Linked DNA regions of Homo sapiens: region 1 is linked to region 2. Evidence: promoter capture Hi-C in 16 types of primary human blood cells and fetal thymus (Javierre and others, 2016). All regions are on one chromosome and are shown on one strand. Each heading gives the region's core, a stretch centred on a gene start or on the middle of the fragment in contact. The rest is flanking DNA. Distances are from core to core; before and after follow the strand shown.

Evidence for each region. The method cuts DNA at HindIII sites, captures the fragments that hold promoters and counts their contacts. A CHiCAGO score of 5 or more calls a contact.
Region 1: the fragment with the promoter of ELF5 here is called in contact with a fragment that was not itself captured in region 2 in 1 of 17 cell types (naive CD8 T cells); the score reaches 5.3 in naive CD8 T cells.

Annotation. Positions count from the first base shown.
Region 1 is chr11:34,508,876-34,516,260 of GRCh38, forward strand. It overlaps ELF5 (E74 like ETS transcription factor 5), which reads right to left and starts at 4,919. Exons shown (of 7, transcript NM_001422.4): 1 at 4,802-4,919. The HindIII fragment of the contact is 1,187 bases long and covers 4,490-5,676 here.
Region 2 is chr11:35,464,406-35,472,091 of GRCh38, forward strand. PAMR1 (peptidase domain containing associated with muscle regeneration 1) reads right to left here. Exons shown (of 11, transcript NM_001001991.3): 5 at 6,196-6,413; 6 at 3,596-3,703. Among named protein-coding and RNA genes, the nearest start is that of SLC1A2, 49 kb to the left of the region's middle. The HindIII fragment of the contact is 2,399 bases long and covers 4,352-6,750 here.

The sequences.
Region 1 (7,385 bases), core at 3,669-6,168, 960 kb before region 2:
TCTGCTTCTCTTTCTGAAAACACAATTGAGCCCCAAGGCACACTTATATAGCAAATCAAACCTCAGTACTAAGAGGGGCAGGATTGTGTGATTCTGAAACCAAAGGTCAATTCTTTGCAGATGCTTGAAAATCTCCAACCACCATCATCATCACCATCAAATGTGCATGAGACGCCGGGTGCGGTGGTTCATGCCTGTAATCCCAGCACTTTGGAAGGCCAAGGTGGGCAGATCGCTTGAGGTCAGGAGTTCGAGACCAGCCTGGACAACATGGCGAAACCCCGTCTCCACTAAAAACACAACAATTAGCTGGGCATGGTGGTGCACACCTGTAATCCCAGCTACTCAGGAGGTTGAGGCATGAGAATCACGAACCCAGGAGGCAGAGGTTGCAGTGAGCTGAGATCGTGCCACTGCACTCCAGCCTGGGTGACAGAGTGAGACTCTGTCTCGAAAACAACAACAACAACAACAAAAACGTGCATGAGAACTCCTCTCCAGATGTAAATATATAACCGAGTTTGAATTCTGACACTTAGGCACCTTTTCTGGGCCATCACCCAAGAGTTTCCAGACTCTGCTGGGAAGTCTCTTTGCTGATGCCTGGAGAGGGTTAATGTGCTCTGCAGATTATCGTGGGCATGGATCTCCTCCTGGGAGCCCAATCAAACAGATGTCAAGGCTGCCTGGGTTTGGGCTGTGATTTTCCCACGGATTGGCTGGTTTTATATCCTGAGTGAGGGGGGCAGGGAGGGGGTAGGATGCTGAGGGATGGGGTGAGAGGTTATGAGGAAGGGAAGGGCCTCAGGAGCTGAAAGCCACTTCTGCTTTCTGGACTGGACTTCAGAAAAGTTCCTTTAAGTGAGGGCTGAAGACAAATATATCCCTTTTCTTCTGGGCCAGAAGGCTCAGAAAACTAAAGAAGAGGATGGCAGGCCTGTGATATGACCTTCTTTGGGTTGGGAGAAAGGAGAGGTGAATTCCACACGGAAGAAAACAGAAAACAGTCCCCAGGTCTTCAGTGTCAAATAAGGAATCCATCAAATACAAAACACGACAGTGGGAATGAGATCTTCCTCATCTATGCCTCACTAATTGCTCTCAAAAGTCATTGGGTATTAACAAAAAAAAAGGTCATTTGGTAAATTGAATGGCATTATATAAAAACTAGAAATATTTTTTGATCAATAGTATTTTTACCTCTTTTAATATTGTTATTCTTTCTCCTCTTTATACCGGCCTACTCACTTGATCTGTAATCTCTCTAGTGCTATACACAATGCTGTATCTGATTCCCTTTGGTAATTCCTTCTAAGGCAAATTATATCCATTAAGTTTTTGTAAAGGGCCTTCTCAGGTGTACAGCATGCTATTTTTCTTCTGTAATTATTTCTTGCTTTTGGAAAAAATATCTTTTATAAAAGCAGAAAAAGGTGTTTTTTTTTTTTTTTCCTGTTACAGCAGGAGTGGGTGTTATTAACTCTGGGCTCTCCACAAAAGACCTTGGCTACTTAGCCAGCATGCAGTAGGTGTGAGAGTTCAAGAATAATGGCTGCTTTGTATTCAGTAGCCTCTCTTCTCTAGGCCCTCTAAGGTCCTTGCAATAATTGAACATTTTAGCTCTTAAGGACTTCTTTAGTGGAGGTAGAGCAGGATAGGTGTGAAAAGGCAGATGTCCAGAGCCCCCTTTCTCAGAAGTAACACTGAGGCCCAGGGATATGTGAACACAGGCCTGAGGTTAGGCCAGGCCTGCTCAAGGGGGGTGATATTGCCCCCCTCTTTAGGGAACAAAGATGAGTTCTTGGGGATCAAAAAACTGAGTTATTAATTACAGTGTTTTATCATGCTCCAAAGGTCTACAGTAGATGTATAGTTTATCTCTGGTACTCACATTTCTGGTGGGGAGATGATTAAGAAAAAATGACCTAAAAAGTGTCCTTAGGAGAAGTGATAAAAAAAAGGTGGAGAAGCGCTGTGATAGATCCACCTAGTGTCAGCGCCAGTACAGACAGGGATCTGCTGGGAGGTCTCTTGGCCTGCTGTTCTGGACATACTTTTCATTTTGTGAGGGACTAGCTGGCTCATCATGGAAGGAGCCCTGGGCCTGGAGTTATGATTCTGCCTCTTGCCCCTCTCCAAATCTCAGTTCTTCAACTACTAAACAAGAACACAGATAAAACAGCCCCCAAGGTCTGCCCTAACTCTGTGACTTTCTGCAGACACCCACCTGATTGAGCCAACACATCCAAACCTGGGCACTCACACACATATGCATACACATTGATTATATTTGCATTTTTTTGGTCAAGCAAGTCCACCAAATTGGAGGAAAATCCAACCACTACACACAGACTGAACTTTTAGTGCTGAAAAAGCTCCCTGATTTCCTCTTCTCCCTTTTCTCCTGTGCCCACTGCCTTCTACCCCAGTTGGAGGTAGATACCTCAGGACAACTGGATATTCTTTGCCCAGCCTAGCTGGGTACCTTAAACACTCTGGACCCTCACTCACTGCCCACCGATAGATCCGTGGAAGCTGGAATCAGTTTCCCCCAAATGTAGTCATCATTCTAGCTGCCTAGTAAGTAGGAAAAGCTCAAGAATGATTAACACAAGGTGGTGGAATCAGGTGGGCTCACTTCACACATGAGAAAGTTGGCTGCAGGTACCTGTGGGAGTGAGGCAGAGATGGCATGGAAGCTGAGGTCCCCAGATGCCTCCAGTGGCTTCTGAACCCTTCTCAGAGCTGGCTCACACACCAAATGCACACAGAGAGGGTCCACCGAGTTGGAGGGACAGGCCTGTGGGCTTCTCAGTGTCACACAAATCAGAGGCAGCAATAACAGGTGTGGCTCCCATGGCCTGAGCAACCCGGCACCCCTGCTCAGCCTCCCAGAGAGAGGGGAAGGAGCAAACCACTCAGCCTTGGCCAGTTTGCCAGAGGAGGAAAATTCCTTCCTGACTCTGGTGGTGATCATCAACTTCACTCTGGGCATGTGACCAAAAATTGGCCCAATTAAGCATCTACACATTGGCTGTTTACGGGCCAAATCATCACTGGGCAGAACTAGGCCATAGGGTGCAAAATATAGAAAAAAGTGGCCAAGATTGGGCTTCCTCAACCCCACCCTCTGAGTGGTATCATTGGGAAGAAAATCGGTTTTCCTTCCTTAAAGCCTCAGTGATACCCAAATGTCCACTCCGTCCCAAGACTTGTGAGCAAGGGAGGGTCAATTTCCCAGCCCTTGGACCTCCCTAAGAAGGGGCCCACTGAGGAGAACCCAGTGGAGTATTTCAACACTTACTGCTAAAGAAAGATTGAGGGTTGGGTGCTTGAGGGTTTGTTCTTCTGAGAGGAACCCTAGCAACTGTGAGAACCAATTTGCTGACCTCTTGTCAAGTGATTCCTCATTTTTCTTTAGCTCGCTTAGGGAGTTTGCGTGTTTGTTTGTTTGTAGCTGTTTTTCTGAAGGTGCAGCGAAGATCCAAAAAGGTATGCCATGTAGTTTGCTGTAGGCTTCGATGCAAAGCTTACCAGTTTTGGATTACATATATCAGGGGTTAAATCCTACCTCTGCTGCTGCGAACGTGGGGCACATTTCTTACTACCCAGACTGCTGAAATTCTTAAGCTTTTTTTCATATAGATGTGGTATATAAATATTCATGCCCCTCTTCGAACTACGGTTTCCTCATCTCTAAAATGGGGATTTTTTTTTTTTTAAATCATGCAATCCGATATATGCAAAGGACGGGGCATAATACATATATTCAATCCTGTTTTAGAGGGAAAAATCAGCCATCAACAATGTATCTAAAAATTTGCCACTCTGGTGACTTCTGAAAAAGGGAGATGACCAAACTGAAAACTCCGGCCCGAGAATACCTTAGATTATGAAAAACAGTATTGCAGAGAACACGAAGACAACAGAATCAAGCGTTCACTCGGATGGGCAAACCACCCCTTTCCCTGGGTCTCTGGACTAGACTGAACCACAGAGCTGCCTCCCTAAGTCATCTAGCCTTTCTGGCCTCAGTTTCCTCATCTGTAACATGAAGCGATTGCACCTAGTGATGTCTGACACACTTTCGGGCGTACAAAAGGCATCCACACGCAGGCCCGGCTTCAGCCTGAGGAGGGAGCTTGTGCTACCTGTCGCTGTCAGCAGGGGGCAACCCCACAGAAACCCCACACACTGCAGAGTCTGACAAGGCCTGAGAACACAGTGGAAAAACGCTAACCATTGCTTTTCTGGAAGCATTCTCTTCTGGGGAGATGTCAGAGGGCAAATGGGTTTCTTTTAAAACTGTTTTGTACAAATTCCTGAAAATGCCCCAAACTATAATAAGGGAGTTCTCTGTATCGAGGGGGTGGGGGACAGTGGGCAGGCCGGTGGGGAAAGGAATTCAGTCAGGGGAGAAGGGTAGGTGGGGGGCTTTCCTTGAAGCTGAATATTTTTCTGAGTAAAATCCAGCTTCCCTTCCTAAAGAAGCTTTAGGGAGGATAGAGAACTGAGCGCCTGGGCGCGTTCTCTTAATTCCCCTTGGTTCAGCTAAGGGATCCAGAGGGAGTGGTGGCTGTGAGGAGGGCTGGTGGCCACACGGCCTGCGGAGGCAAGCAGGTCTCTCTGAGGCAAGCCGTCACATCCGTGTCAAACAGCTCCCGGAGGCCCTGGGACTGCACCCAGCGCAGGTGCCGGCCCTGGAGCTGGAGATGGACGAGCAGACCCAGGCCCCAGGCCGAGCCTCTGAGCCCTGACACCCCTTACGATTCATCCAAAAAAGCAAAGAAAAGGCGCTTACGTGAGGGCAGCGGTGGCTAGGTCCAAAGAGGAGGCTTTCAAGGCAAGAGAAGGCAGGCGCTCCCAGCACCAGCGTGCAGTGGAAATAAAGACACCTGTAGCCTTGTGATATAAGTGACACCTACAGACAGGTCCGTTTGGTTTTTCAGGTTTACGCACAGCCCCTTTGATGACGGTGACATACAGTGTGACACGGCTCCTTGGAGGGGGGGAAATGGTTCTCATATGCAGAAAGTTTACCTTTATCCTGCTTTTGTGCGCAGCTCACCCCTGCCCTGCAACCCCCCACTCCCAGCCCAGGGGACTCAGTAAACAAGCAGAAAATTCTTGTCCCTGGGAGCTGTGCGGGGATCGTGCGTTTGGTGAGGAATTTTCCTCTGTGCAAGCTGGAGGGGAAACACAGAGATTCCACCCTGGTGCCGGTCTGCGCTGCCTCTCTCCCAGGCTGGCTGAGCCCAGTGCTTTTGTAAGATCATGTCTTTCTCCGTTTTTCCCATGTGGTGAGAAGGAAGAGCATTATAGGCCCAGTGTTAAGACCTCAGGTTTTGCAGCTAGTTGCCTTTAGATTCAAATTCAGTGTCCATCATTTCCTAGCTGTGCTACCTAGAAAAATGTAGCTAACATCTCTGGGCTTCATGAGTGTAATGTAAGTGATGGGGCCTCTCCTCATGTGGATGCCAGCTCTCAGGTGTCTCGCTGAGAACTGCCCGCTTTTTAGTACTTCTTCGTGACAACAGAAACTCTGCCTAATTTAGGCTGCAAAGCACAGTGTCCCAGGTCATCTATGAGACAGGTATTTATAACCCTGTGCCTTTTTGCATTCTGCTTCTAGCCATCTTGGGCAGCCGAGATGTTGTATTCAAATGGCAGACTCCAAGCTTTAAAGCGAAAGCAAGGACTGGTTTGTTATGTTTTCTTGGGATCACCGGGCATGGTTACAAACACACAAATACAAATACGCATATAGTCTGCAGAAACAAAAGGCAGTTCGTGAGAGGATTCGGGGTGTCATCATGGAAAAATTGTTGAAGGAAGATAGGTGACTGCCTAGACCCCTATCTTGGCTGGGTAACCTGGACTTCTCTGGGCTTCATTTTTCCCCAGTGGCAAAAGGAGGAAGTGGGATTGAAATAGTGATTTTTTTCAAACTGTGACTTGAGGAACCCCAGGGGCTCCCTGGAGCCCTTACAAGGACTTTTGCGGGTGAGAGGATGGGAGTGGAGTAGAGTGGGTTAGGCTCTAGACCACCCCGTTCCTTCCTGACTCAATAAGAGCATCTCAGCTTTTATATAAATCTTCCGGGTAAGATTTCATTTGAACAAAAGAATCTGCCCTTAGAAAGGGTTTGCAAGTAACTGGATTACATGGTCTTTGGGCCTCTTTCAAGCTTTAAAATTCTGTACTTCTCTTCCTCTTTGGTTTCTAGGGGACTGTGCACTGTGATAGTCCCACACACTGTGTTTTCCATTGTTGGGCACTGGCCTATCTTGTCATTGATTTCTGAAATGTTACCAGTGTTTCTTTCTGAACATATACATTCTTCTCAGTGGAGAGGTTTTTAGGGAAAACATGTTATTCTGATACTGTTTTTAGAAAGAGTCTTTTGGGCTGGGCGCAGTGGCTCATGCCTGTAATCCCAGCACTTTGGGAGGCCGAGGCAAGCAGATCATGAGGTCAGGAGTTCAAGACCAGCCTGGCCAACCTGGTGAAACCCCATCTCTATTAAAAATACAAAAATTAGCTGGGCGTGGTGGTGCACATCTGTAATCCCAGCTACTCAGGAGGCTGAGGCAGGAGAATCGCTTGAACCCAGGAGGCGGAGGTTGCAGTGAGCCGAGATAACGCCATTGCGCTCCAGCCGAGGCAACAGAGTGAGACTCCATCTCAAAAAAAAAAAAGAGTCTTTTGGAGAAATTATATTTTTTCTATACTCTTTTGGCTCAATTTTTTCCCCAGGGGCTGTGGCTGCCCAACTGACTCAATTATTTGAGTATAAAAGTCTTCTGACAATGGATGTACAAGACCATGAACTCTGTTTGTCTCACGGTCCCAAATGAATAATATAGCATTTCTGGGTGCCCGTGTGTGAAATTGCAGGCTTCTGGATCAGTGGATAAAAGGGATGATTAAGATAAACCCAAAATAAAAGAAGAATTTGACTCTAATTAAGTGTAACTATCACTTTAAACTTAAATTTGATTGGAATGGAGATCTTGGATGATATTGAACATGAAGCATCTAAGAACTTCATTATGAGTGTTGAATGACAACAAGAATGGGGACTGGGGATGGAAGAGGAAGGTAAAAGGACTAGGGTGGAGGGAGGGGGCAGAAGAAGGAATGAGACATTTTAGAACTCCCAGCCTATCCTGCTTCTGGTGTCCTGGCTATACAGCAATATTAAGTAACACCAATTGGGCTTATAATTGTAACGTAGTGGCTAAGAAAACAGATTCTGGAAGGAGACTTCCCAAGTTTGAATCTCTGATCTGCCATTTGCTGTCTGGGTGAGTCTGGGAAGCCTATTGAACATCTCTGCATCCCAGTTGCCTCATCTGTAAAATGGGAAAAAAGGAATACATTTC
Region 2 (7,686 bases), core at 4,301-6,800:
ACAAGGTTTTTCAACCTTGGCACTACTGATCTTTGAGCCAGATAACTGTTGTGGGGCCTGTCCTGTGCAGTGTAGGATGTTTAGCAGCATCACTGGCCTCTACCCACTAGATGCCAGCAGCACACCACCTCACTCCTACAATTATCACAGCCAACACTGTTTCCAGACATTGCCAAATGTCCCCTGTGAGTAGAGATGGAGAGCAAAATCACCCCTGGTTGAGAACCACTGATTTAAAATAATGACACATAGACCACTTAGGTTTGCATACCGCAGAAAAAAAGGTCTAGAAGAATATCCTCCAAGTTCTTACAATGCTTCCACTGGGAACCAGGATTGGCCAGGAAAAAACAATGTTCTCTTTTTATTCTATACACCTCTGTACTGTTTGATTTTTTTGACATATATTTCTGCAATTAAGTAGAAAATCTACTTCTATTCCACTCCACTCACAGACATACACGTACATTAGGAAAATAAAGAGAATAGCTTCTATCAAGAGTCTGTACATCGGAATTCTATTTGGAAAAGAGAAACAGATGAGCTTTAACTGGGATGGGAAGTCCTTTAAGAGGACTCGCTAATGGGACATGATGGTAACCAGAGTTCATCAGTGAAGCATCTGGAGTCTCACCAAGACATACAGCAAGTGTCGTGTCTGAGAGATTGTGAACTAAGTGGGAAATGTGAAATTATGGCCTCTGGTTTTGAATTTGATGGGGACCAGTGTCTTGCATTCTCTGCTTCAAATCACTCATTTGCAAAACTGAGCATCTACCTTTCCACAAAGACTTGAAGAGAACATTAAAGCAGCACCTGTGAAATGATTTGCCCTCATCAGATTTGGCACTGCATAAATGAAAGATTTCTCATTAATGTTGATTTTGGTCATTAATATTGATTTTAAAGCCATTAAAAAAAAAGAGCCTAGTCTAATTTGGGCACTTCAGAGTTTGGGGAACCCCAGATGCTTGGGTTTCTTCCTAATTTCAAAAGAATTCCCGCCAGGATGTTTTGAATTTGTTGGTATCCTCATGAGGAAAACAAGAAAATAAATCTTTTTGCTCTTTTTTGCTTTTCTAACTGATAGACTGCTCTGGAAAAATTGCTAAGGTTTACTCAGAAATTATAACATAAACTGCCATAGCCATTTTTTGTGACGTGTCCCCCAGTGAGTTAGTTGATACTCATGCCAAATTTCCTAGAAGGAAAAATGAACCTGGATCTTACAGAAAACAGACAAACAAAAAACATTTAGTTCCCCCATACTGATGCCAGTAAATGACATATCGGATATCCACTGGTAACACCTTCACTTCACTATAACTACATGTTACTAAGGGAATTATGACTTTTGAACAATATTTTGAAAACCAGCAAGGTAGAATTTTCCTGCCCATCTATGCTGATGCTTTAAAGTAATTTGAGACAGTTTGTGAATTAAGTTATGAATCAGTTCATAGTGACATATTTTACATTCTTTTTTCATTATGTTTCTTATTTTCTTAATGGAATAACAATGCTGAGGAATCTGTTTTGACTCACAAGCTACCTGTGAATATTTTAATCATAAGTTTTGGACCAATTTATTTTTCTTTCCTAATTTGACTCAGCTTCCTAAAGACATTTTGGCTTTATCTGGTGATGTTTTACTTCTTTCCAATTCTATTTTTTTTTTTTTATCAAAGTATTGTGTAATTCGTTCATCAAGAAATTAAGCCTTCCCTCTTTTTGTTTCCTCCTCTGAAGCTCAGTATTTGCTATTGTCAAGAATCTAGAATCGCTCTACATACAAATTCTTGAAGCCAAGAGAATGCAACATTTCTCTGGTCTGCCTTGCACACAACATGGCAGGCTCAAATGAGGCAAGAACCACGAAGCAGAACATCATTTTCTATGTCTCTAGCAGTCACACTCAAGTGAGCTGTGCCAAACCAGGGCAAGGATGCTCTTAGTAGAAATCAATGGCACACACAGGGACCCACTATTGAAACCATGGTTTCCATCTGCATTGTTTGCAAGAAAACATTAGTGAAAACTGGGCCAGTGCAGTGGCTCACCCCTGTAATCCCAGCACTTTGGGAGGCCGAGGCGGGTGGATCACGAGGTCAGGAGATCAAGACCATCCTGGCTAACACGGTGCAAACCCGTCTCTGTTAAAAATACAAAAAATTAGCCGGGTGTGGTGGCGGGCGCCTGTAGTCCCAGCTACTTGGGAGGCTGAGGCAGGAGAATGGCGTGAACCCAGGAGGCGGAGCTTGCAGTGAGCCGAGATCGCGCCACTGCACTCTAGCCTGGGCGACAGAGAGAGGCTCTATCTCAAAAAAAAAAAAAAAAAAAAAGGAAAACATTAGTGAAAATTAATTCAAAACATACACAAACTTTAGAGAATACTGCCAGACCAGGCTGTTAGATGACCACAGAGTACCTGTGCACTCTAGTTAGAAGTGACTGTAGTAGATATTGTTGGTGCTCTGCCCTCGGGTCTATTTTCTGTGTTTCTGTGGGCCCTTTTCCCCTCCCCATCCTATGGTATTTTACTTCCAATGGCCTGTACTTGTGATTCTCTTTCAGGGAACTGCTCAGGGGCTACTGGAACCACTTTGCCCACATGCATAGAAAGCCATATGTGCCCACGGTTTATGTCCTCCAGTTCCCCAGGGCAGCCCGCACCCAATGACTGATTGCTGTGGGCATATGAAAGCCCAGATCCCTTGCCTTAAAGCTAGAACATTACTCTAAGGAGTAATGTACATTCCAGATCTCATGACAGGTTAACACTGAGGTTGGTATTTTGCCTGAAATCGCACCCCTACTTGGCCTCCTTCCCTTCCCAGGCCAGCTTCCCACACCCCTATAAGCTTCCCCAGGGAGCCTGTCCTTAACACTTCACTTGTGTACACATTCTCAACTCACGATCTGCTTTGGGAAAACCTACCTAGGAGACTCTCTGTCCTCCTTTGCTCTCCCCCAAATTCTTGTCCTTATGCACATCACATTCCATGCTGATGGCTTCCATCTGTGACACCTGTTTTCGGTCTGGTAACCAAGGCCTTATATAAGACATGTGTTAAAACATGACCATATAGTTTGTCATCCAATTCAAGACACTTTGCTCACGAAAGAGGATGCTATTAATAATTTTGCTCAGCAAAATGTATATCTACCACCCTCATTGCAGGGCTTCAAGTTATGCAATAAGTCACATTGGAGCCTGTGAATGGTGCCAGAGTATAAATCTAAAATACAGATCTTAGAATGGACAGGGATACAGACTGAGCCACAGGAAAGTTTGTTGACCTTTTTCAGTGTTTTTGAGCTCTGAATATTACTAGAGGCCATTGTATCTTTCTAAGAGGTATTTGCAGCAAGTGAGGGTTGGAAATGTCAATAGACAAACCTAGGAAGTTGAAGAGAACCTGACTCAGAAGCAGCTATGCCCCTCTGAGAATCACTCACTGGGAGTATCCACACTGTGCACCATCTTGGACAGAGCATCCTAGACATGAAGAAAGAGTTGGCCCTGCAAGCTCTTAAAATCCTTCCATACCAGCCCCATCTGACACCTTAACTCCCACTTAGGAAGCATACTCACGATTTTCACAGCGCTGCCCAGTATAGCCTGCCAAGCAGGCACACTTGTAAGATCCAGCCTTGTCAAGGACGCACGTGCCGTCATGGAAACAAGGGGATGAGGAGCATGCTGTAAGAGAAAAGGCATCCTTCAGTGCCACTATACATTGAGTCGATGTCTTCAGGCCCAGAGTCTTGACCAAAGTCTTTTAATTCCTTATTAAAGTCTTCTTGCAATGTTTTTTCTTCCCTTTACTGAATTCATGTTATGATTATTTGAAAATGCCTAAAATAGATACTCATTAAATATCAAATGTTGGTGATATTATTTGATGTTTTTGAGGGCCCCAGAAGTATGCTTAACGCTCCTATAGTCTGAAGACCACAAGGCAATGCAAACAAGAACATTAAATTGATGAAAGCAGAGCCATGCTTGTATCTCTCCCATAGGGGTTTCAGCGGACAGAGACATCCTTGGGTAGCTGAAGACCATCTTTTTTCAAATAAAAGCTCACCATCCTGGGTACTGGGGCAATGCAACTGGAAGACAATCATTATGACACTGTTGAAGGTATATTCAATAATTTCCAAACTTACATTCTGTAATCATTAGTCCCTTGAGATGTTGATGTGTTTTACTAAGGGTTCTGAGCTCAAATATGTTAGGGAAATGTTGCTGACATTCAATGCTAATTAACCAGATTTCTTTACTGCAGAACTTCTCAGTTCAATGCCCCAATATACATTGTGAGTTTCCTAATATACATTGTGAATTTCAAGCTTATTTGACCTCAAAGCCTGCATTTTACAAGGCATCCTGGGGACTATTTTTCTACAGAAAAGATTTTGAGAAACATTCATCTGTGTGTTATCCATCAATCCTACATTCATTTATCCCAATGTAGAAGTATATTCCTTGGCTCAGTTCAACAAACCTGTCTTGAGTACTTGCTCAAAACATGACAAGGGAGAAATACAAGGAAGAACAGGATGTCCTATTTACCAGATTAAAACTACTTGAAGAAAAATATAAAACGACTATGACTTGAAGCATAATATAGTTAGTGTATTACGAAGAAAGAAGAGGCAATGCTACAAGACATTCAAAAAAGGGCAAAGCCATAGCTTGTTGGAGCAAGAGAAAAGATTTAGGAGAGGAGGAAGAATGTAGTAGGGGCTATGAAGGATGGATTTTGATGTGCAGGTTGCAGACAGGTGACTTTAGCCAGAGGAAATATCTTGAAGGCAAGTGAACAAACAGGGATGTTTGAAAAATGGGAAGTGGTATTATTTGACGGCATTGATAAAACACAGGCCAGTATTGCCAAAGTTCTCCAGGGGAGGTTGAGGAGGTCATTTCAGAGGAGCAAGACATTCTCCTGACCGTCCCTCAGTCCCAGATTCACAGACTGGCCAGCCACTGCTGCCCCTACCTGGCTTGCTGACTGTCCTAAGCCCCCACAGACACATCTCATGTGGGACGTTGCTCAGCCTATACCTGCAGGGTGTCACCAAGGGAAGAGGATTCAGCCACAGGCTGATCACACCACAGCAGCAAAGCATCAGAACTCCCAGGCCCTGCACAGCTCCACAGGGGGCAGGCACAGAGACTGTAGAGAGCACCTGCTGAGAGTTCCTGTAGGCAGCCTCCTAAAAGAGGGGTAGACCGGGGAGCAGGGTCTCCTGGCCTTGCTGAACAGACAGGACTGAAGAAACACTGATTATTCAGCCACCCACCTTCTTTCCTGAGACTTTCATGTCATACCCTATGAATAAGGAAGTCTTAATGATCAGAATACCATTACGAGTTCTTTTTTAATTCAGTTTTTTTTTTTAAATCAAACTTCAAGCCTGTGTTTATTTTGTAAAACCTGATGCAATCTGATCTCAGAACGATGAGAGTGGGGTGATTGCTTAGGATTAAGCATTTTGTTCAGTTTGGTCAAATCCTACTTCCTAATATGATCACAGCAAGAGTTACAGTCAGGCTTAAAGTTACTCATCAAGTCAATGACATTTACCATTATAGTCTTTTAATACCTATTTTATAGGTGGCAAGTGGAGGGTAAATGTATGCCTAGGGTTGGGCAGCTGTTGAATTCTTACTATGTACCAGACTATGCCAAGCTCTCCATTTGTTCTGTCTCTCAGAGCCTCCTTAATGGAGAAGGATCTACTATTACTCCCTTATCACTCATTAGGAAACAGAGGCCCAGTGGGGTAGAAGAACTTACCCAAGGTCACATAGCTTGATCTGTCAGGGATTTAAAGCCAATGCTCCCAACCATGAGAGGTCACCCTGTGTGAGCTCTAGAGCCGAACAGCTTGGGTACAAATCCCTAGTTCTGCCCCTATATCTGTGTGACCTTGGACAAGTCATTCAGCCTCTCCGTGCTTTAGCCACTGCCATTTGTATAAGGGAGATCATTCCTAGTTCTGGTTCTGAGTGAGTTTTTCTGAAATATACCTTGCTATTTCTTTTTTCTCAGTGTGTAGGCTGTTTCTAAGAACACAGCCTACTAGGTTTTAATAAGGATGAGAGGAAGAAAGGAAGGGACATGGAAAGGAGATATTTATCTGGAGCAAGCCATAAAATGCCACATTTGTCTCCTTGGCCTTTACCTGTGATCTCCTCATAAATGGCATGGAAACCGTCAAAATTCTTGGAGCCATCGGAGTGGAAGAGGACGTGGAGTGAGGATCCTATGCTCTGGATAGGAGCTGGCCGCTCGTTGCCACAGACACGCTTGATGATCTGGCCATCGCGGTTGTCTCCATCACGAACCTCAACATAGTCATACTGGCACATGTAGTCAAACTCCAGGCTCAACATGACAAATCTGTGGGTGGACAGGGTGACGGAGGGAAGCAGATGGGCCCTGGACAGTCCTGAGACCGCTGGGCTCATTCAAGGCCAGATGAGGAACAGGCCTGAGGAACAGATGGTGTCACTGGCCTGATCGGATAGGAAAATGGTCCTCAGAGGTTGGCGAATTTCTCTTAGCAGAGGAGTATGTATTTGTGCACTGTTTGCATGTATGTGCACATGCAAGTGCCTGCCCAGGTGGAGCAAGGTGCCATAATCCATGCAGAGACTCTTTGCATGTGTTGGTCTCTTTTCCAGGGCACTTTTTCCTCCCAGTCTGTGTGGCTGGTTCCTTCCTATCCTCAGGCCTAAGCTTAAATATTCTCTCCTCAAAGAGGCTTCCCTGACCACTCTTTCCAAAGAAGATCCCTTATTTTTCTCATACTGTAGACATAAATTTCAACCTCTTATATTTACCTCCTTGACTTTTTGTGTGTCTATGTGTGGCCTGTCTTCTCCACTGGCCTGCAAGTAACTTGAAGGCAGAGAGGAACACCTGCCTCGTTCCACAGTTTTCACAGTGTCCAGCGCAGTGCCTGGCCTATGGAGATGCTACAGATATTGCCAAATATACGACTGAATGGATACTTTATTGTAATTTTATAGTTGGAGAATGAAAAAAAGCTCATATTGTTTTGCAAGACTAAGTAAAGGGGAAAACAACAACAACAACAAAAAAAACCTCTGCACACTCTTCCGTTTGATGGAAGAATCAGAAGGTAATTATCTTCTAGGCAACGATAATTCTCACCCAAAGAGTAGAGAAAGTAGCACCAAGTCAGAATTTCAGGGGTTAAGGAAACCTGACACATCCATGCTTATCCAAAAGGGGTCTTGGGTTTGAAAACACTGAGATACACCAGATTGGAAACACAGAAGATGACATTAAGCCCCCGATTCCAAGAGACAAGAAAAGCAGCAGCCACATCCCAGGGCAAGAGAGGCAAAAGCATTTTTCCAGGATTCCCAAGGGAATACATGAGTATCAAGTTCACAAAATGTATGTCTGTACCTTCTCCTCCACACTCTGGAGAAAAAATAGAAATAGAAAGGCCCATAACTGCTGCCTAAAATGTTGGGAGTAGGGATATTTCTGCCACCTACAGTAAAAACCCAACATGCCAGCATTAGGGAACACTGGAATATAGTGACAATCAGTATATTGATTGTAAGTGTTCTAAAAGGTACTATTAACAAAGAAATCCAATAACCGAGTTTCATCAGTGTTTACTTCACAAAGGGTTGAT